Regions from separate parts of the Homo sapiens genome. Here regions 1, 2, 4, 5 and 6 are each linked to region 3. The links are contacts of gene promoters, found by promoter capture Hi-C in blood cells and fetal thymus (Javierre and others, 2016). All regions are on one chromosome and are shown on one strand. Each heading gives the region's core, a stretch centred on a gene start or on the middle of the fragment in contact. The rest is flanking DNA. Distances are from core to core; before and after follow the strand shown.

Region 1 (3,778 bases), core at 403-2,902, 580 kb before region 3:
ACTAGGTCCAAGACACCTGGGACCACTGTACTCTCTGTTTCTGCTTATAGCTTTGGCTTTGGGGTCTCTACCAGAGGCCTGGGGATCCCAGTTCTTTCTTTTAATCTCAACTATGTGTTTGCAATCTTCATATCTATGTGGCTGTGGGAGGTGGGAGGCCCTTTTGTATCAGCTCCGTTCACTGTGTTGCCAGAAGTCCAGGATTTGCCCTGGGTCCCCAGAACATTCTATTTTGTCCAATTGCTCCAGCCAGTAAGGTCTTCTCATGTCCTGATTCTAGCTCCTGGCCTCCTTGCTGCCCCTCCTGGCCTCCTGCTCTGTCTGCCCTGGATGTCTTTACTCAGGCCGCAGAGAGATGGATTCTGTGAATGTGCTATACACAGCACCTGGCACAGATGCTGCCCCCCATGAAAGTGTATGCTGGTTTAGGACATTAAAAACAGACATTGAGGGCAGTCTTTAAACTCTTCTCCAGGTTGACACTAACCCATTAATCAGTATAGATAGTTGACGATTTTCACACCCATGGGTGCCAGTCCCAATTAGTCCATCTGTGTAGTGCCCGCCCTGGGCAGCTAGAACCTCTATGCTGGGGGAGTGGAGGGTGTAGGGAGAGAGGAGAAAACCTGAACAAGGCCAGTCCAAGGCTGAGAAATACACTCCCTTGTGGGTTTGATCCTCAGGAGTCATTGTCCACAGGCCAGAGGGGAAGCAGGTTGGATGTGAGCAGCAGAGTCTTCTGAATGCTCTGATTTGGAGTTTGGCCCCTGGCCAGAGAGGTCCCCTGGCTGGGTTCCTTCCTACTGTAAAAGATTTTTCAGAACAAGATTCAGGGTGATGTAAATGAAGCCAAAGCTGTGGAGGTGAGAGGAGTAACCAGGCAGATGCCCAGGACAGTGCTCCACTCCCAGGGCCCTGGGGGAGTCTGCAGCTTACTGAACCCCTGGAGGCTTGGCCCAGAGCCCTGAACACAGGCCAGGACTGAGCTCAGAGTGACACAACAGCTTGCATGTTCTACCCACCGGTGGGAGGGGTGGGTGGGGCTCCTGATTCCCAGCCAGGTCCCAGGGCCTCTCAGTGGGTGGGATTGGGGCACAATGTGTGAGTAATGGGGGTGGTTCTCTGCCCAAGGCCAGAGCAAGACAGGCCCAAGAAATCATAGGTTCAAACCTGCCTGTGATCCAAGGCCCTTCTATGGAAGCTACCATCCTGTAATCCCAGGCCTTCTCTCTGAGGCCAGTGAAACCTCAAAGAGGTCTAGGCAAATGAAGGAAGAAGTATCTTGAACATAGAAATCACTATTGTTTCAGTCATTCTATGCCCACGACCTAGCCCATGTTCCTTTACAAATTCTGATGGGGCCTGATGTCAGTGGCCCAGGTGCAGAGAATGACCCTGCCTGGGGTATGTTGTGGGAGCTTGAAACTTCCCAGGGTGGGTGGTGGGGTTGAGAGGTTGTGGACCTGCTATGGTGAGGCATTACCACAGCATCTCTGGACAAACTGAGCCATGCAGTGGGACCAGGTCTCCCCTCTGTCCGGGGTTAGCCTTCCTTCACGGGTCATAGACAGGCGGCAGCATCTTGCCAGTCTCCGCATACATTCTCTGTGCACCCCAATTAGCAATGGGCAGAGAGAGATAGGCCATCACTCAACCAACACAGGCCTTTTGCTGGTACTTACCATGACATAAAAACTGGGACGCAGGAGGATGACCTCTGACACGCCTCAGCTGGCAGTCTCCGAGGCAGAAGAACCCACTGGACTTTGGCGATCCCAGAACTTGAGGACTGTACAGAGAAATTGATAGGGAAACCTCAAGCAACGAGAAACGTGTTTTCTCTTCATCAATGGGCTGTGAAAAAAGGAATCCCTGGAAGAGAGTTACAGGACTTTTTGAGAGAGCACTTTAGAAAGATTCTCTATAAACAAATGTTTTAGGGGAAAATATTAATTCATTTTAGAAGAGAATGTTAATTCATGGCATTATTCCCAAGTCCAAGAGTCCATATGTAATTCCATCTATGGTTGCACATAAGACATTTGGGAAGATGAGAATGTGCGTGCATTACAGGACACCAAACAAACCAACAGTGATGGAGACAGCATGCCCTGAGTTTGGAATGCCTTAGAGAGCTTGGCAGAAATGCAGGGATGTTCAGGGTTGTTTAGGAGTGGGATTACCAGACACTCCTGACAGAAAAGGATAAAGAGAAAGCATCCTTCATATGTCTGGCAGGACTTAGCAGATGGAGAGGACACATCTGGATTTCTGGGCCTGGCCAGTTGCCAGTGGCTGTTGGGGAGGAACCAATGGGAAGTCCAATGTATTTGCAAAATGTCACTCACTTATAAGGACTCAGTGAAGCAGGAGCTTCTGTAAAGTGCAGGACAATTTTGAGGAGATGGAGTTGAAATCATCGTTCACTGGGCAGTGTTCATTCTTTGGTGCTATGTAGAATACAGCTTTATTTATTTATTTATTTATTTTTTGAGACAGGGTCTCTCTCTGTCACCTAGGCTGGAGTGCAGTGGTGCAATCACCGGTCACTGTAACTTCTACCTCCTGGGCTCAAGCCATCCTCCCACCTCAGTCTCCCGAGTAGCTGGGACTACAGGAGTGCACCATTACGCCTGGCTAATTTATTTATTTTTGTAGAAACGGGGCTCCACTATGTTGCCCAGGCTGGTCTCAAACTTCTGGGCTCAAGTGATCCCCTCACCTTGTCCTCCTAAGGTGTTGGGATTACAGGCATGAGCCACGGTACCTGGCCCATAGAGTACAACTTTCTGACAAGGAGGGAGCAGAGATCTAAAAAGGATGTCATCTTTACTGGAAGATTCAGCCTCAGAGGACTAAAGACATTGAGGGGATTTGGGGGATGCTTTAAGCAGTTTGTCAAACGTTATCCTAACAAGGAGCAAACTTCCCACAGATTTGATCTGTGTCTTGCTGCAGTAGGGGCTCCTGACAGCAAGGGGGCAGCCAAGAGCAGCCCTGGGGTGGAGAGGGAGGCTAGAAATCACTGGCCCACGGACCCAGCCAGGGAACCAGGCAGAAGCCTGCAGGCAGGCATTCGGGACCGAGGAAGTCAGCACCCCAAATGACTCTGAGAGCTCCAAGACTGCCTTCCCTCTACACACTGCTGCCATCTTGGAAGGACTAGAGACCGTGCTAAGCCAGGAGGATCCTGGGAAAGGAAACCTGTGTTTTGGTTGTGGCCCAGCACATAACAAGGAGGAACCAACTGTGGTTCCTGGAATCTCATGGGTCCCCCATTCCCAGTGTAGGGGAAGCTGTCCAATTCCCAAGGTTGGCAGTTTCCATCGGGCCCCTGTTCTCTCCTTTTGTGGATGATCTATCTAGCACAGTGTTTCTCAGCCAGGGATAATTCCCTGCCCCGCCCCCATCGACACTCCCACCTCCCCGTAACCCACCCACCCACCCCGTGCTCCACTGTGCCCCATCCCCAGGGGATGTTTGGCATTGCCGGGAGATTTTTGGTTGTTACAACTTGCGGGAAGGGTGCTCCTAGCATCTAGGAGATGGAGGCCAGGGATGATGGTAGGCACGCACAGGATGGCCTCACAACAAAAAATTATCCATCTCAAAATGCCAACAGTGCTGAGGCTGAGAAACTCTGACCCAGAATTATCTTGCTGAGTTTGTTTTCAAAGGCAAGTGCCAGGCTTCAGGCTAATTTTGCCCTCAGTCTAGCCAACACCACCGTCCCCGAGGCAAGATGTCCTGGGTACTTTCTTAGAATTGGTGAGGAAAA
Region 2 (3,713 bases), core at 140-2,639, 810 kb before region 3:
TTAATCAATGGGATTTTAGCGGTGTTCACATCCCCGAGGGACATCAGGCCCAAAGACATTTCTTGTCTCCGCAGAGGGGAGGAATCTGAGAACTGATGGAGTGATTCTCTAGCTGTAGATTCTGGAGGTGGTGAAAGGCAGGGTGCCAGCCCCCAGAAACAGTCTGTGGCAGTATCAGAGGGCCACCTTGGGTGTTTGATGGCTTTGCTTTGGGGATGTTCACTTGTTCTGGCAGTGACATCACTGCAAGATGTGTGGGATCCGAGGCACCTGTCACATGACCACAGACCTGAGAAGTCATCTCCTGTAACCCCTGCCATTGTGCAGTAGAGGAAACTGAGGCCCAGAGAGGGAAGGTCATACAATGAATTAGTAATACTGTAGAACTAGAGTGCAAGTCTCCTGGGCTCAGCTTTTTGCCTTCCCAGTGTCTGTAAGGCTGAGTCAGGATCAGAACCTGTTGCAACCATCAAATGGTTGATACAAGCAGTGATAGAGAATTCAGGCAAGATACAGACACCCAAACTGAAGAATTCAGTTTGAGAAAATTATAATGCATTTTAAAAATAGGCTGGATGTTCTTTTTCTTCCTTTATCTTTTTATTAACATTTTTAAAATTTGGGGCTATTACATATGTAAAAGTGCATAAAACATAGATACAATCTGACAAATAATTTATAAGCAAATACCTTTGTAACCACCACCCAGGTCAAAAATGGAGTATTGCCAGCCTCACAGAAACCCACCATATGAGCTAAGAGTCCTTTATCTCAACACTCTCTCTCCTAGAAGTGATCATGATCTTAATTTTTGTGATGATCATTTCCTTGCCTTTCTTCATAATTTTACACCCAAATAGCATATTACTGCCTGCTTTAAACTTTATGTAAATAGAGTCATACTGTGTGTGCTCTTTTGTGTCTTATTTCTTTGATCCAACATTGTGAGATTCCAACACTGTGAATTATTTTAAAGAAATCTACTAGAACACTGCCCTGTGAAGTAAAGTGTGATCCTTAACATAGCTCAGCCTAGGGTATGGGTATTGCAACAAGGGTACCCCAAAGAGGTTGTTTTTGGACTTTGTTCCTGGTTGCTCTGACCAAATATCACTTTTTTTTTTTTTAAGCTTCAGGGACCTGATTGTTTCATGAATTCCCTCAAAATATACACTAATTTAAGGGACATATAATTGTGTGTGTGGAGGTGGTGGGAGGTCCAAGGGGCAAGGGGTGGCAATCCCAGAATTCCTTACTTTGCAAAGGAGGCACCTGACTCAGGTTGTGAGCCCACTGGGAGCAGGAGTTGTTTTATCTGTCTTAAATCCCCAAGGCCCAGGATGGAGTCAGTCTATAGGCGGAGATCAATAAACATTTGTCCAGTGAACACAAGAATAAAGGTCACTCAGCTTAGGCCTCCGCGGGACGCCTGAATTTCCTCCACAGTACAATCTATGACTGTTTCCTTGGTGGTCTGATGGAGGCCCACCAAATGCAAAAAATCAGCTTGCTGGTAGAGGTAGGAACCTTGATCATCCTTGATACATTTGTGTCTTACATTCAAAAAGACCTTAGGAAGGTCAGTATTAACCAGACGTGCTATTTCTCTAGAAACTATATAAAGGGAGTGTGGGAAAGAGAAGCTTTTATTGAAAACAAACAAAGCCTGCAATGTGCTTTTGCAGGGAGTTGTGGGAGAGCTGGGTAGGGCCACTCCAGGTCTCCTGGCCCTGAGGTGGAGGCCCTGTGACCACGGAAGCTTCTCTAGGTAGCTCTGAGCCCACTTCTGGGGTCTCTTGCATGCCTCCTGTCAACTCAGGAGAGGCAGCTGAAAACTGAGCCATCTCTGCTGCTCTGGTCAGCTGGACAGGCTGCATAGTTTGAAGGAAAGTCCTTGTTTTCTACCTCCTCCTGCCTAAGATCAGTGACCCGCCCCCCCCGGGCTCCCACCTTCCCCAGCCAGGTCAGGCATCAGAGAGCTACCATGGCAGCCACAGATGCAAATGCATATTGCTTGAATTATTTATTTTATTATTTTTTTAAAGCTCACCCTTTAATGAAATACCTTAAATATGTAGGGTAGTCAAGACTCACAAGAGAAGGCTAGACTCGATCCCTTCAGCGCCCCTTCAGCGCCCCTTCAGGCTCTCAGAACTTTGATGGAAAACATCCCGGAAGCTAAAAAACTGTATTTACCTTCCCCAGCCCCACCCCTACCCCTATCCCGGACACTGTAATTTAGAAGCACGCGTTTATTTGTAGGATTATTCATCGAGTCAATCTTCCCCACCAGATGTGATTCTCACGATTGTTTTTTGACTGCCAATGGTCAGCTAAGGGTTTAGTAGGTATTTGGCGATGGGGAAGCATTGGTTGCATGCATGATGGGTGAATGCTGAGGGGTCTGACTCGGCTGTGGATGGAAGGAAAAAGACCTCCTCCACCACCACCCGGGTCTCAGTGAAGGACGGGTTGGGAGCGCTCCAACAAGAACCACTGCCTGTCCCCCAGCCCGGACCCGCGGCCAGGGAGGAGGCCCCGGGGAGCCCTGGAAGGCGCCGCGGGGAGGCCTGCCTTCCTGGAAAGCCACGCTTGGAGCTGTCTTCAAAAGCGGCGACGCAGCCCCCGGCGTTTGAGCACGAATAAATCATTAGCATTTTATTTACAATTCTGGGTTTACAATTCCTGGAAAAGGATCCTGCTGTTCAGTGCGGATTCCTGCTTTGCAGGATTTCCCCAGCGCCTCCTTCCACCTCTCGTCTAGGGGGACTGGGTTCCTTAAGACTTCCCTGGACGGGAGTGCGGTGCGGAGTGGATGGGGCGGGTGGTCTCGGGAAGGAGGGGGCGCCGTCCCTCGGTCCTGCGTTTCCCGACGACCCCGAGCAGAGGAGTTGTATCCTCTCGGTTTTACCGAGAAAGGACGGTTGATCAAAGAGGGCTGGGCGTGCCCAGGGTCACACAGCTCGCTCTGAAGCTTGCGCCTAAGTCCCGGGTCTGGGAACCCCGCCGCGCAGCCGCGGACCCGGGAGCCCCCAGCGCTCGGCCCGGCTCCGGTCCCCGACGGCGCCCCGCGTGGCCGCTAGATGGCAGCCTTGGTCTCCGAGGCGGGCGGGCGGCCGCCCACCCAGGGTCCGGAGGGGCCAGCGCGCCGCTCCGCGGAAGGCGCTGTCGCTGGCACCCTAGCCCACGCTTCCGGGGCCCCAGTGACCAAAGCAAGGAAAGAGTTCCAGAAAGCAGCCCAGGCTCCCCTGTCCGGAACGGAGCGGGGGCTTGCTCCGGGCTTACCCGGAGCGGGGTCCGAGGCGTGGCGCTCTGGGCTCCGTGTTGGGGTAGGCTCCGCCGGGCGGGGGCGCCTTCAGCCCCTCTTGGGCAATGCCGGCCGCGCGCACAGGGCCCGGGGACGGTCGGGGCGAGACCGCGTGGGGTGAAATCCGCGGCAGGAGGCCGCCTGACTGTGTCCTGATCCGGTCCCTTTAGACGTGACCCATGGTCAAGCCTTCTACCTATCTCCCCTCTCCTGCTCCAGACCTAGGCATGTGGAGTCTCTCCCTAGCTGGGAGAGGCCGCGGGCCGGTCCCTGCCTGCCTCAGCCCCAGCGACCTCCACCCAGAACCCACAATGGCAGGTGGAGGCACCCGCCCATCCCCGCGGCGGCACCTGTGGGCGAGCAGAGATTGGCATGTCTCGGAGGTTGGCACACGGATGATTTGGGC
Region 3 (3,282 bases), core at 538-3,037:
AAGATACATCCCAGAGAGGCTGGGCATGGTCACTCATGCCTGTGGTCCCAGCACTTTGGGAGGCTGGGGCAGGCAGATCAGATCTTGAGGTCAGGAGTTTGAGACCAGCCTGGCCAAGATGGTGAAACCCCGTCTCTACTAAAAATACAAAAAAAAAATTTAGCCGGGCGTGGTGGTGCACACCTGCAGTCCCAGCTACTTGGGAGGCTGAGGCAGAAGAATCGCTTGAACCTGGGAGGTGGAGGTTGTAGTGAGCGGAGAGTGCGCCACTGCACTCCGGCCTGGGCAACAGAGCAAGCCTCCATCTCAAAAAAAAAAAAAAAAAAAAAAAAAAAAAAAATCCCAGAAAAAGGCCCCATCCATGGGCTGGATGCTCACTGCCTGGACTCCAGATAGCAGGTGCCTGTGATCCAAACCGAGGATGTTAGAGGGGCATACATACTGAAGCAGTGTCTGGTATCCATTCATTCATCAGATGTTTATTATGTGCCGGATATTGGAGTAAGTACTGAGAAGGCAGTGGGGAACAAAACGGAGCCCTGCCTTCATGGCTCTTACCATTTAGGCAACAACAGCAATAATAAGCAAGCAATGATTTAATTTTGAAAGGAAACCAGACCTGGTGGGTGACTTGGGACCCAGGAACCCAGGCATGATGCAGAGATGGGACGGAAAGGTTCTCAGGAGCCCCAGCCTGGGAGGGTGTTAGTTCCTCCGTGAGAGCTCTGCTACACCCAGCCTGGGGTGTGGGGAGGCCTCTGTGGGCACCTGAATCTTCACTCTAGATGCTAAGGTTATTCCGGGGTTGATTTGTTGTCTCTTGTTTCCACAAACAGCACAGTAGAGCCTCCTGCCTCCCTCCCTCCCCCACCTCTTCCAGACTGAGGCTATTTATTCCTAGTGACAAGCCTGAGGATCCCAGGGGGGGTGGCCTTAAGGACCTGGAGGGGCCTCGTGTCCCTAGCAGGCGCCAGTCCTCCCTCACGGACACAGGGAGGAAGCCAGAGGCTCAGACACCGCAGAGGTCCCCTCCCCTCTCCTCCACCACCCCTGAGGTGCCCCATCCTCTCACACTCCTCACACCCCACCCTAGAAGCCCAAAGATCATGGGGCCGAGGATTAGGGTCTCCCCCGGGCCTCAAAGGTCAAAACTATTCCTGGGCACTGCGGAAACCCAGGCAAGGCAGGACTTCTCAGTGTCAGGAGGCTGCTGGAAGTGGGGAGGTGGTTACCCCTGTTTTTGCTACTCAAAGTTGTGGAATAAAACCCTTTGGAGGTCAAGGCCCTATGGTGGGGAGGGGTCCTCTCTTCGTCCCATGTTTTCAGAGAACACCTTGGTGCCCGCTGACAGGCTCATGACAGCAGAGTCAAAACGTCCTCCTCCAGGCTGGATTAAGGCCGGGCTGAGTGTCACCCCTGGGGTAAGGTGAAGGGGTGGGGGGATCCGAGGAGGCCAGAGGACTCCCCCAGTGGACCATGGTCTGCGGGGTCTCGTGTCGCCGGCCTGAGATGGAATACAGCAGTCTCCCTCTGGCAGCTGGGGATGGGGGGTGGGAGGGGAGGAGAACAGAGGCTGCGGGGAGGGGACAGGGGCGGGGTCCCGGCCGCTTGAAGGTTGGGAGAGCCAGGTTAGGCCGGGCGGGAGGAGGGGGCCGGGCCGACTGGCGGCCGAAAGGGAGGTGGGGGCGGGGTCTGGCCCCCGCGGCGGGCTGGGGGGCCGGGGGCGGGGTCCGGGCGGGGCGGGCCCGCGCTCACTTCCTCGGGGAGGGGTTGGGGCCGCGCTCCCACTCGCCCACACGGTCCGTCTGCAGTCGGCAGCCTCGCCGGCAGCTCGCTCGGCCCCCGCTTGGCCCGGCCCGCAGGTAGGAGCCGCCGAGGGACGCGGCGCCCGGTTCCCGGCCCCGCCTGCGCCGCGCGCTCCCCGCTCCCGCCGCCCGCTTCGAGGTGAGCGCCCCGCCGACCCCGGCTCCCAGCCCTGGCGGTCCGCCCCCGCGCCCAGGCCGGGGAGCGAAGGGACCCGCGGAGGGCTGAGGCCAGCCGCGGCCCCGGTCCCCTGTACCCGCCGGGCTCTGGCCACGGGTGCCCGGGGCACGCCGAGCCCGGGACAGCGCCCGCCGGGACTGGACCCCTCCGGGCTATCGGGCGGGGCGGGGGCGGGGGCGGCAGCGAGAGTTGGGCGGGGGAGGGGGCTAAGTTTGAAATAGAAAAGCCGGAGAGAGACAGACAGACCGACCGACCAGAAGCGCTGGAGAAACTGAGGTTCTCGGAAAGCCCGGTGGAGCGAGAGACCGAGACAGGCAGGGACTCGAGGCACAGGAGGCTACCGAGACCACTGAAACAAGGACACACCGGGCGTACAGAGTTACTGGTGGACAGACCCGAGGCATGGGGGCCGTCCTAGGCTTTGTGGAGCATTTTCAGAAAAAGCATACGTGGGACCCCAGCGAACACATTCCCTAGGGCCCTTCCCCGGGCCTTGGAGGTGCCCTGAGGCTTGGGCGTCATTGGCCTCATGCTGAATCTGCTCTCTGAGGCCTGCAGAGACGCTCAGAGACTAGAGACAGAGACATTCAGGCGTGCAGAGGTGGCGAAAGAGACTTGGATGCAGAGACAGAGAAAGGGAGGTGGTGGGGATTGAGACATTCAGCCATGTAGACAAGAAGAGACCAAGACTTGAGATCCACAGAGGCATGGGCCCCCTGGGGGACAGCCAGTCAAGATACAGAGCCGTCCAAAACCTAAAGACAGAGACTGAAGTGTGCCCAGACACAGAGATGCTGAGTGAAGCAGAGACAGACACCAGAAACTGAGACTAAGTGGGGGCAGAGAGACCTAGGTGGTCTGACAGCTTCCAGGACAGCCCCTGACTTACCCGGGCCTGAACCATTGGGAGGTGAGGCTGTGGGGAAACAGAAACTCTGAGCCTACCGATCCCCCATGAGGCAGAGGCCCTGAGACAGTAAGTTCGAGATCAAGAAGAGCCCCACGCACACACACAGCCACCAAGACAGCCCCAACTTATTTTTGAACTCAAATCTTGGATGGGCTGCCTCAGCCCTGGGGGACCCAGGGTGAATGAACTGTTCCTCTCATGTCCCCAGAGCAGCTGCGGGATCTTGCTCCCCAACCCCCTTCCCTAAACTTCTCTGACTTCCAGGCCACATGGGGGAGAGCAGAGCTTGGGGTTGGTGCCCGGTAGCAGAGGGTGAGGGTTGAGGGAGTTGGATTTCTCCCCTTAAGTCTCCTGTCAGCTTCTAGAAGGTGGGGGAGGGGTCTGTTCTG
Region 4 (3,536 bases), core at 954-3,453, 850 kb before region 3:
TTTACGAAACTGAGACGTACTCTCCAGTTCTCACTTGGAGAACTTCGTGGACTCCCTCCCCTGGCCCGTTTTGATTTGTTCTCACTTCAGGTGACCTGAGTGTTTCGGGATTCCCAGCAGAGCCCCAGGGAGCAGCGTCAGGAAGAGTTGTGACTAAGACACTGGGCGTTGTAATTCTCGCTACTGATGTGAAGGAGACTTCGCTGTAGCATTACTGGGAATTGGGTAGTGAGATTGCACCCATTTCAGTAGTTGTGGCCTGGTGAATGTAATTACTGGTGCTGTTCCCCCTGTAGGGGTGTGTTTTTAAAAATCTGAGACTTTGAGAATATTTTGCAGACCTAGTCTGTTTGTTTTCACTTTTGGGCCTTCATGAACAAATGGAGGGCTGTACACGTTTGTTTGTTTATGTTTTTGAGACGGAGTCTCTCGCTCTGTCGCCCAGGCTGGAGAATGCAGTGGTGCAATCTCGGCTCACTGCAACCTCCACCTCCCTGGTTCAAGTAATTCTCCCGCCTCAGCCTCCCGAATAGCTGGGATTACAGGCGCGCGCCACCACGCCCGGCTAATTATTGTATTTTTAGTAGAGACGGGGTTTCACCATGTTGGCCAGGGTCATCTCGAACTGCTGACCTCAAGTGATCATCCGCCTTGGCCTCCCAAAGTGCTGGGATTACAGGTGTGAGTCACCACGCTGGCCTACACTGTTTAGTGAGGGTTAAATAGAGGCAAGGTTGACTTCCTCCATCAGCCAAACCCATTATACGCGGAGTGAGCTGGTAATAAAACTAGTATCAGCAGGCACCTGGTCTTTTCACCTCTCCACTCTGTTGCAAAGGCCTATCCAAAATAAATCTGTGATTTTTTTTTCTTTCTGAATCTGTGATATTTTGTAGATGGGATCTTTTTAAAAAGCAGCGTTCTTCCAGGTTTGCTGGAGTACTGTGTTTTATTTACCTTGATTTTCACCTCTACAGCAAAACTTGGGTACGTTGACTGTAGGTTTTTAGTAAACTAATTTCAGTTATTCACATTTGTTACTGAGAAAACCTTGAGAGTAATTGTTCACTTTTCTCTTCTAGACAGTAAGAGGCAAAGTAGTTTTATGTTAGAACTGTGTAGGTTGTGATTATTGTGATCCTTTTTTTTTTGTTTGTTTGTTATGGAGTCTTGCTCATCGCCCAGGCTGGAGGGCAGTGGTGTGATCTTCACTCACTGCAGCCTCCACCTCCTGGGTTCAAGTGATTCTCCTGCCTCAGCTTCCCAAGTAGCTGGGACTACAGGCGTGCACCACCACGCCCGACTAATTTTGGTATTTTTAGTGGGGATGGGGTTTCACCATATTGGTCAGGCTGGTCTCGAACTCCTGACCTCAAGTGATCCGCCCGCCTCGGCCGCCTAAAGTGCTGGGATTGAAGGCGTGAGCCACCGCACCCGGGCCGATTATTGTGACTCTTAACAATTGCCTTTACGTTTCTTTTCTCATGAGAGCTATCTTTTCCCTGTCAGTCCCCGTGGCCTCCCCCTGGACGTTTTCACTTTCTACTTGGTATAGTTACTGCCCTTCTTAGACTGCAAAGTCAGTGAGGGCAGAGTCCAGTCTGTTTCACTTTTTAAATTACTCCTCAGAGCCTGAGGTAGGCATTCAAGTAATTTTTGAATAAACCAGACTTCTTAAGCTTTAGCTGTAAGACTTTTATAATCTTAAAGCAGATTTTGGTAGAATTAATGTTAGCTTTCCCCCAGAAAAACTAATGGAGGTGATAGAGATTGCTACTATTAGTACTGAGTATGGTGCATAGAACATAGGAGAAAAGATTTAGCTCCAAAATAGATTTAATGGAAATTAATTTGGTGTCTTCTTTTGTCAAAAATAAAGGGATAGTGAATACCAATGGATTCACCATTCAGTTTCTACTTTTCAAAAAAAATTTTTTTTTGTGGGATCAAATGTTTAAATGTTAAACCAGGGTGGAATTTTAAATTTAAATTCTGAAGTTTAATAGTCATAAAATTGCCTGTTTTCTTTTAACAGGTGGTGTTTCATAAGATGTCACCCAACGAGACCCTCTTTTTGGAAAGTACCAACAAGATTTATAAGGATGACATTTCCAATAGCTCCTTTGTGAATTTCCAGATATGGGATTTTCCTGGGCAAATGGACTTTTTTGACCCAACCTTTGACTATGAGATGATCTTCAGGGGAACAGGAGCATTGATATACGTCATTGACGCACAGGTAGTCAGTAATGTGTTTACTCCTCTTTCCTGGTGGGAAAAAGATGTAGAAACAAAGGAAAGTTGTTTATCTTCTTTGTCATGTGGTTGCAGCTTATCTCTTTGGCAGTAGATTCCCTAACAGTGTAAGAGATGCAGTTGCAGAGTGCTTTGGGAGCAGACATGCATTGTGCAGGTACAGAATATCAGATGATTAGGAGATATGGTTTACATCCTTGAGTCCTAGTTGATGAGCAGCTAACATTGGCTTTCCACTTTTATTGGTTGCCATATTTTATAATAATTTTATAATAATAGTGATGTTATTCCCTGAAAATATCCCATCCCATAACATAAAGAGGAATATGAGAACTGAGTCAGTAGATATTAGAGTGAATAGTTTACTTAATTGTCAAAATTGAGTTTAGCTCAACAAACATTTATGGAGGGCCTAGCATGTGGCAGTCAGTGAGATGAATGGGGCAAGTCCCTATCCTTTAAGAAGCTTACTTTTTATAAGCTTAAGCATTAGTTAAGAATGCTTTCTGAGTGATAGGCTCTACAGAGGGTGCCTTCACGTACAGGACCTAATTAATTTAAGCTTCACAATATTGTTAGGTAGGTATTGTAATTCTGATCTTACAGATGAGAAAACTGAGATCAGAGTTTAAGCAGCTTGCTTAAAGTGACACACTGAATAAATGGCAGAGCTGGGATTACTTAAAAAAATTATGTTGGGAAAAAATGTTCATATCATTTTTTTCTTTCTTAAATTAATATTAAAAATTACAAGCATTAACTTGGTAATTGAATTTTTTTATCTTGAGACAATTGAAGAGTTATTTAGTAGTATAGTATATTTGAATGTTTGAATATTGATGATAATTAGGATAGTATTTTTCTGTGGTTGGGGAAAGAGGTGGTTTGAGGCTTTAACTCATTACTTGGCTTTTGTAAGATTTATTTTAAAAAATATTTTGTTCTGACTTACAGGATGACTACATGGAGGCTTTAACAAGACTTCACATTACTGTTTCTAAAGCCTACAAAGTTAACCCAGACATGAATTTTGAGGTTTTTATTCACAAAGTTGATGGTCTGTCTGATGATCACAAAATAGAAACACAGAGGGACATTCATCAAAGGGCCAATGATGACCTTGCAGATGCTGGGCTAGAAAAACTCCATCTTAGGTAACAACATGTGTGTTTGATATGAAAGCCCTGAACAAGGTGTAAATGTATTCCCATCTCTGTCATTACAAACACCATAGCTTTCTGCTACCTGTGTGCCCTTTGCCACATCTTTTATGTTTTTGA
Region 5 (3,664 bases), core at 1,126-3,625, 870 kb before region 3:
CCAACCTTAATATGCAATCTGCCGGCAAATAATCCAAGCAGCTAAATTATAACTTGCCCCACTGCTTCCTTCAAGAGAGCAGCTATATGTCTTAAATAGGTCAAATACTGCTACAGTGAAAGTTTCCATAATACTGCCACCATACCAGTGAACAATCTATTGCAAGTAATATCTATAATGAGATTCTGGTACCATAAGGCCGGGCGCAGTGGCTCACGCCTGTAATCCCAGCACTTTGGGAGGCCGAGGCAGGTGGATCACCTGAGGTTGGGAGTTCGAAACTAGCCTGACCAATATGGAGGAACCCCATCTCTACTAAAAATACAAAATTAGCTGGGCATGGTGGCGCATGTCTGTAATACCAGCTACTCTGGAGCCTGGGGCAGGAGAATCACTTGAACCTGGGAGGTGGAGGTTGCGGTGAGCCGAGATTGTGCCATTGCACTCCAGCCTGGGCAACAAGAGGGAAACTTCGTCTCAAAAAAAAAAAAAAAAAAAAGATTCTGGTACCATAAAATAGTTGAGAATTTTTGGAGTTCTTTTTGTTTTCTGAGACAGAGTTTCTGCTCTTGTCGCCAAGGCTGGAGTGCAATGGCGCGATCTTGGCTCACCGCAACCTCTGCCTCCCAGGTTCAAGTGATTCTCCTGCCTCAGCCTCCTGAGTAGCTGGGGTTACAGATGCCTGCCACCACACCCAGCTAATTTTTTGTATTTTTGTAGAGACAGTGTTTCACCATGTTGGCCAGGCTGGTCTCGAACTCCTGACCTCAGGTGATCCGCATCGGCCTCCCAAAGTGCTGGGATTACAGGTGTGAGCCACTGTGCTGGGCTTGAAGTTCATTTTAACGTAAGAATTTACAAAATTTGGGCTGGGCGCGGTGGCTTACTATGGGAGGCCGAGGCGGGTGGATCACTCAAGGTTCAGGAGTTCAAGACCAGCCTGGCCAACATGGTGAAACCCCGTCTCTACTAACAATACAAAAATTAGCCAAGCGTGGTGGCACTTGCCTGTAGTCTCAGCTACTTGGCAGGCTCAGGCACGAGAATCACTTGAACCTGGGAAGTGGAGGTTGCAGTGGGCTGAGATCCTGCCACTGCACTCTAGTCTGGGCAACAGAGTGAGACTCTGTCTCCCCCCACCAAAAAAAAAGAAAAAAAGTATACTTTTTCATAGTAAAGTATAATAAGTACTTTATACATATTCATAAATATTACTGAGATGAATTTCTGAAAATGTTCACCAATTGCCAGGAAGAAACCAGAATTTATTTCAAATTTATTTCAATTTGGATTAAAAAAACTAATCTAAATTCCTATGACAGCCAGATCTGTTTCCTCTGGTTTCACTGAATGCCATATCTTACTGAATTATCAAATGAAGCATATTCGTTTTCCTATGTGTATAAATGAGATTTAAAAATCACTGACTTTTTGACCGGGCACGGTGGCTCATGCCTGTAATCCTGGCACTTTGGGAGGCTGAGGCGGGTGGATCACGAGGTCAGGAGATCGAGATCATCCTGGCCAACATGGTGAAACCCCGTGTCTACTAAAATACAAAAAATTATCCCGGGGGGTGTTGGCAGGCGCCTGTAATCCCAGCTACTCAGGAGGATGAGGCAGGGGAATCGCTTGAACCCAGGAGGCGGAGGTTGCAATGCGCCGAGATTGCGCCACTGCACTCCAGCCTGGCGACAGAGCAAGACTCTGTCCCAAAAGAAAGAAAGAAAGAAAAAAAAATCACTGACTTTTCAAGCCAGTAATGGCATGTTGGGGAAAAAGAAATTGACTTTGTTATAACTTTTATATCAAATAATCTTAATAAATAAGGTTAAGATCAGGTTACTAGTTTTAGAAACCTTTCCAAAAGTTCTGTTGAAAAACAACAATAGGCTGGGCATGGTGGCTCACGCCTGTAATCCCAGCACTTTGGGAGGCCGAGGTGGGCAGATCACCTGAGGTCAGGAGTTCGAGACCAGCCTGGCCAACATGGAGAAACATCATCTCTACTAAAAATACAAAATTATCCGGGCATGGTGGTGCATGCCTGTAATCACAGCTACTCAGGAGGCTGAGGCAGGAGAATCGCTTGAACCCAGGAGGTGGAGGTTGCGGTGAGCTGAGATCATGCCATTGCACTCCAGCCTGGGCTACAGAGTGAGACTCCGTCTCAAAAAAAAAAAAAAAAAGAATATAATTTTAGGCCATGCGCATTGGCTCATGCCTGTAATCCCAGCACTTTGGGAGGCCGAGGTGGCCAGATCATCTGAGGTCAAGGGTTTGATCTCAGCTCACTGCAACCTCTGCCTTCCAGGTTCAAGCGATTCTCTTGCCTCAGCCTCCCGAGTAGCTGGGACTACAAGCGCCTGCCACCACGCCTGGCTAATTTTTGTATTTTTAGTAGAGGCGGGGTTTTACCATGTTGGCCAGGCTGGTCTGGAACTCCTGACCTCAAATGATCCACCCACCTTGGCCTCCCAAAGTGTTGGGATTACAGGTGTGAGCCACCCCGCCCAGCCTATATTCTTAATAGAGAATATATACACTCCTCCTCCAGGTATCATGTTTTTTTCATTGTATTGTGATGTCTAAATATAAGTGATTTTAAATTCCTGACATTTAAGTATATTATTGGTAACAGATTCACACTTTGGCCAGGTGTGGTGACCCACACCTGTAATTCCCACACTTTGGGAGGTGAAGGCAAGAGGATCACTTGAGTCTAGGAGTTTAAGACTAGCTGCAGCAATAGAGTGAGACCCTGTCTCTACAAAAAAATAAAAAAAATTATCTGGGTGTAGTTGCACACACCTGCAGTCCCAGCTACTCAGGAGGCTGAGAGGGGAGATGATCGCTTGAGTCTGGGAGGTTGAGGCTGCAGGGAGTTGTGGTTGCAACACTGTACTCCAGCCTGGGCAACAGAGGGAGACTCTGTCTCAACAAACAAACAAACAAAGAAAAAACCCCACAGCTATCTAGGGAAAAAGTAAAGCAACCAGCATATAGAAGTGACATATTGTTATATTTTCACCATAGGTTTGCTTTAAGAAATAGTGCTCCCTTCAGAATGGAAGAATTTATCTGCCTCTTATTTGATGTGGATCAGAGCTAAGATGGCTGACTAAATAAACATGGGGGACTGGAATCTCCTTGGAGATACTCTGGAGGAAGTTCACATCCACTCCACCATGATTGGAAAGATCTGGCTCACCATCCTGTTCATATTTCGAATGCTTGTTCTGGGTGTAGCAGCTGAAGATGTCTGGAATGATGAGCAGTCTGGCTTCATCTGCAATACAGAACAACCAGGCTGCAGAAATGTATGCTACGACCAGGCCTTTCCTATCTCCCTCATTAGATACTGGGTTCTGCAGGTGATATTTGTGTCTTCACCATCCCTGGTCTACATGGGCCATGCATTGTACCGACTGAGAGTTCTTGAGGAAGAGAGGCAAAGGATGAAAGCTCAGTTAAGAGTAGAACTGGAGGAGGTAGAGTTTGAAATGCCTAGGGATCGGAGGAGATTGGAGCAAGAGCTTTGTCAGCTGGAGAAAAGGAAACTAAATAAAGCTCCACTCAGAGGAACCTTGCTTTGCACTTATGTGATACACATTTTCACTCGCTCTGTGGTTGAAGTTGGATTCATGATTGGACAGTACCTTTT
Region 6 (3,514 bases), core at 683-3,182, 840 kb before region 3:
TTCTTATCACTTCTTGTCCTTAATAATGCTTGGTATTGTTAGACTGTTTAATTATTGTCAATCTGGTAGGTGTGAAAGGGTATCTTATTTGATTCTCATTTTTACTTTTTAAATTACTGGTTAGAGCAAGTGTCTTTTCATGGCAAGTACCTTTTCATGGCTATTCAGGTTTCTTCTTTCACATTTTACCTGTTCCATATATATTTATCTTTTTTTGCACTGATTCTTAGCAGTTCCTTATTTTTCTCTATGTTAGTTTATTTGTTTATTTATTTTTTTGAGATAGAGTCTCGCTCTGTCACCCAGGCTGGAGTGCAGTGGTGCGATCTCGGCTCACTGCAAGCTCCGCCTCCCGGGTTCATGCCATTCTCCTGCCTCAGCCTCCCAAGTAGCTGGGACTACAGGCGCCCGCCTGCACGCCTGGCTAATTTTTTGTATTTTTAGTACAGAAGGGGTTTCACTGTGTTAGCCAGGATGGTCTCGATCTCCTGACCTCGTGATCCACCTGCCTCAGCCTCCTGAAGTGCTGGAATTACAGGCACCCGCCACCACGCCCCCAGCTAATTTTTTGTATTTTTAGTAGAGATGGGGTTTCACTGTGTTAGCCAGGATGGTCTTGATCTCCTGACCTTGTGATCTGCCTGCCTCGGCCTCCCAAAGCGCTGGGATTATAGGCGTGAGCCACCGCGCCCAGCCTATGTTAGTTTATTTTTTTATTTGTGTTTTTATTTTGAGATGGGAATCTTGCTGTGTTGCTCAGGGTGGTCTTGAACTCCTGAGCTCAAGCAGTCTTCACACCTCAGCCTCTCACATAGCTGGGATTACAGGTGTGCATCACTTGTGCCTGGCTCCTAACCATTTTAATCTTAAAAAAATTTTTTTTTTTAGAGTGGGTGTGGTGGCTCACACCTGTAATCTCAGTGCTTTGGAAGGCTGAGGTGGGAGGACGCTTGAGCTCAGGAGTTCAAGACCAGCTTGGGCAAGATAGCAAGACACTGTCTCTACCAAAAAATTAAAAAGTTAGTTGGGTGTGGTGGCTTGCACCTATAGTCCTCTCTACTCAGGAGGCTGAGGCGGGATTGCTTGAGCACAGGAGTTTGAGGTTACAGTGAGCTATGATTGTACCACTGCACTCTAGCCTGGGTGTCAGAGTGAGACCCTGTCTATAAAAAAAAAAAAAAATTTTTGTTTATGGAAATTTTCAGGTGTATACAAAGGTGGAGCAGCACGAGGAGTCCCTATGCATTCAGCTCCTGGGTTCAGCCCTCATTCCCACACACTTCAATCATGTTTCCTGGAGAGCTTCTCAGTTATTATAGATTATTAAGCTTTTTTATTTTATTGTGGAAACTGTCAAATATATAAAAAAGTAGAGAAAACAGTATAATAAAAGCTTTTTAATCCATTGCCCAGATTCAGTAGTTATCAAAATTATAGCCAATTATGTTTCATATTTATACCACTTTCCCTACTGGATTATTTTGAAGCAAAGGCCTGACATGAAATCATTTTGTCTCTGCAGATTTCAGTAGGTATCTCTAAAAGGTAGTGGTTTTTAAAACAATAAACAACAAAATTAACAGTGACTTAATGATATCAAATATCTGGCCAGTGTTCAAATTTCCTTGATTGTCTTTTATTTTACATTTGGCACAGAAATAAATTTTAATGTAGTTGAATTGATCAAAACTTGTCTTTTATAGTTTGTTTCTTTTCTGAGTCTGAAGGTCCACCTTAATTTGGCTGTAACCTACTTATTCAGACCTGATTCTTAGTATTTCCTACCAAGAGTTCTCTGATGTCCCACTCTCCAGTCAGACCATTTTTTTTTCCTGTCTTCCACCTGTGCTGTATTCTCATGGCCAGGTCCCTGCAGTTTTCTTGTGATTTTGTTCCCCTTTTCTGCCTAATTAAATCGTGTCTGTATTCCCCAAGTTCTTTCTTGTCCCTGAAGTTTTCAGTTGATTACTTTGCCCTGCACTTGGCTTTTTCTTTGGATTTCCTTCACAGTTGTAGTCAATTTGACACCAGATTGTTTTGGTTTGTTTCTTGTATTTTGGCTTTATGCCTCAGCTAGCATATCCTGTCTGGAAGTCATGGACCATATCTGCTGTTTCCTTTGACATATTGTACCCTCTATCGTGCTGTGTAATAAGTATTTACTGACTTTCATCAAATCAAATATAAACTATTGAAAGATCACACTATGTTCAAGCAGGCCACACAGTGTATTTGAATATTTTACTTTTCTTGAATGTGAATTGAGTGATTTGAAACTTGGATGCCAGAGGTATTAATTTGGCCAAGGTGATGGTCTAATTGCAATCGCATTTGTTTTCTAGCAGAACGTTATGATGGTGGATATATATGATGACCAGCTGTTCTTTTTTTTTTTTTTTTTTTGAGTTGGAGTCTCGCTCTGTCACCCAGGCTGGAATGCAATGGTGCAATCTTGGCTCACTGCAAGCTTTGCCTCCCAGGTTCACGCCATTCTCTTGCCTCAGCCTCCTGAGTAGCTGGTACTACAGGTGCCCGCCACCATGCCCGGCTAATTTTTTTTGTATTTTTAGTAGAGACGGGGTTTCACCGTGTTAGCCAGGATGGTCTTGATCTCCTGACCTTGTGATCTGCCCGCCTCGGCCTCCCAAAGTGCTGGGGTTACAGGCGTGAGCCACTGCACCTGACCGATGACCAGCTGTTCTTACGATTGAAGAAGTTGCTATCTAGTTTGGAGGCTTAAGAATTTCCAACCAGTGTTTATCCGAGTTATTTTTGGCTGCAAACCCAAATATAAAATTTCACAATTGACAATTCAGGAGGCATTCTTTTCTTTTTCCTTCCTGCAGGTTTAATAGACTACAACTTCCACTGTTTCCGAAAAGCTATTCATGAGGTTTTTGAGGTGGGTGTGACTTCTCACAGGAGCTGTGGTCACCAGACTAGTGCCTCCAGTCTGAAAGCGCTGACACACAATGGCACGCCACGAAACGCCATCTAGTCTGAATCCCAGCGTCGGGGCTCTGTGCCAGCTTACTCTTCACTCCAGGGTCGGATGCCACGTGCTACAGGACATGGGAGCTGCTGCTTGTGGGAATCTGGTGCCTGTTCCACTAGAGACAAGGGGTAGAGTTTCTCATTTGGATGAAAACCCCTTCAACTGGTGGTGTACAACTGAAGCTACTATATCTTTTTTGAAAATGGCAAAAAAAAAAAAAAAAAATTCTGGAGACCACAGAACTCAAGTGTGTGTTTCTCCTCTTTTGGGTCCCCTTTAAGTAGTTGGGATATTTTGGACCTGGAGATAACACCAGTTACCCATCCTTACCAGGGAATGTTGCCATCAATTCCAGTTGAAAATAATAGAAAAGACTGAATTTTTATATGCTTCACTTAGGCTTTCATTTGAGTAGACTCTAAAAATTCTGCCTTGCTTAAGTTCTAACACTGCCTCTCAGATTTCAGTTTTGGACATTGCACAACTAAGACCTTTTAAATGCATTTGCTTGCTAACTCG

The links. Contacts are between HindIII fragments. The CHiCAGO score rates a contact against its expected background, and 5 or more counts as called.
Region 1: a contact is called between a fragment that was not itself captured here and the fragment with the promoter of FHL3 in region 3, in 1 of 17 cell types (total B cells). The highest score is 6.6, in total B cells.
Region 2: a contact is called between a fragment that was not itself captured here and the fragment with the promoter of FHL3 in region 3, in 14 of 17 cell types (naive B cells, total B cells, endothelial precursors and 11 more). The highest score is 13.4, in naive B cells.
Region 4: a contact is called between a fragment that was not itself captured here and the fragment with the promoter of FHL3 in region 3, in 17 of 17 cell types (M1 macrophages, erythroblasts, endothelial precursors and 14 more). The highest score is 19.7, in M1 macrophages.
Region 5: a contact is called between a fragment that was not itself captured here and the fragment with the promoter of FHL3 in region 3, in 8 of 17 cell types (neutrophils, megakaryocytes, naive CD4 T cells and 5 more). The highest score is 8.7, in neutrophils.
Region 6: a contact is called between a fragment that was not itself captured here and the fragment with the promoter of FHL3 in region 3, in 8 of 17 cell types (M1 macrophages, megakaryocytes, M0 macrophages and 5 more). The highest score is 9.4, in M1 macrophages.

What each region holds. Positions count from the first base shown.
Region 1 is chr1:38,586,440-38,590,217 of GRCh38, reverse strand. No RefSeq gene overlaps it. Among named protein-coding and RNA genes, the nearest start is that of LINC01685, 110 kb to the right of the region's middle. The HindIII fragment of the contact is 4,476 bases long and covers 1-3,778 here.
Region 2 is chr1:38,817,705-38,821,417 of GRCh38, reverse strand. No RefSeq gene overlaps it. Among named protein-coding and RNA genes, the nearest start is that of RRAGC, 40 kb to the left of the region's middle. RefSeq lists silencers at 1,887-2,054, 2,945-3,174. The HindIII fragment of the contact is 513 bases long and covers 1,133-1,645 here.
Region 3 is chr1:38,004,019-38,007,300 of GRCh38, reverse strand. FHL3 (four and a half LIM domains 3) reads left to right here and starts at 1,787. Exons shown (of 6, transcript NM_004468.5): 1 at 1,787-1,944. RefSeq lists silencers at 1,667-1,726, 1,757-2,116 and an enhancer at 2,969-3,282. The HindIII fragment of the contact is 9,980 bases long and covers 1-3,282 here.
Region 4 is chr1:38,855,582-38,859,117 of GRCh38, reverse strand. RRAGC (Ras related GTP binding C) reads left to right here. Exons shown (of 7, transcript NM_022157.4): 2 at 2,036-2,239; 3 at 3,211-3,410. Among named protein-coding and RNA genes, the nearest start is that of RRAGC, 2.4 kb to the left of the region's middle. The HindIII fragment of the contact is 1,043 bases long and covers 1,682-2,724 here.
Region 5 is chr1:38,875,566-38,879,229 of GRCh38, reverse strand. GJA9 (gap junction protein alpha 9) reads left to right here. Exons shown (of 2, transcript NM_030772.5): 2 at 3,037-3,664. The coding sequence starts at 3,132. It overlaps RRAGC-DT (RRAGC divergent transcript), which reads right to left. Exons shown (of 2, transcript NR_186075.1): 2 at 3,004-3,289. The region is part of intron 1 of GJA9-MYCBP (GJA9-MYCBP readthrough); the gene reads left to right. Among named protein-coding and RNA genes, the nearest start is that of MYCBP, 4.0 kb to the right of the region's middle. The HindIII fragment of the contact is 8,897 bases long and covers 1-3,664 here.
Region 6 is chr1:38,839,037-38,842,550 of GRCh38, reverse strand. It overlaps RRAGC (Ras related GTP binding C), which reads left to right. Exons shown (of 7, transcript NM_022157.4): 7 at 2,847-3,514. The coding sequence ends at 2,998. Among named protein-coding and RNA genes, the nearest start is that of RRAGC, 19 kb to the left of the region's middle. The HindIII fragment of the contact is 1,074 bases long and covers 1,396-2,469 here.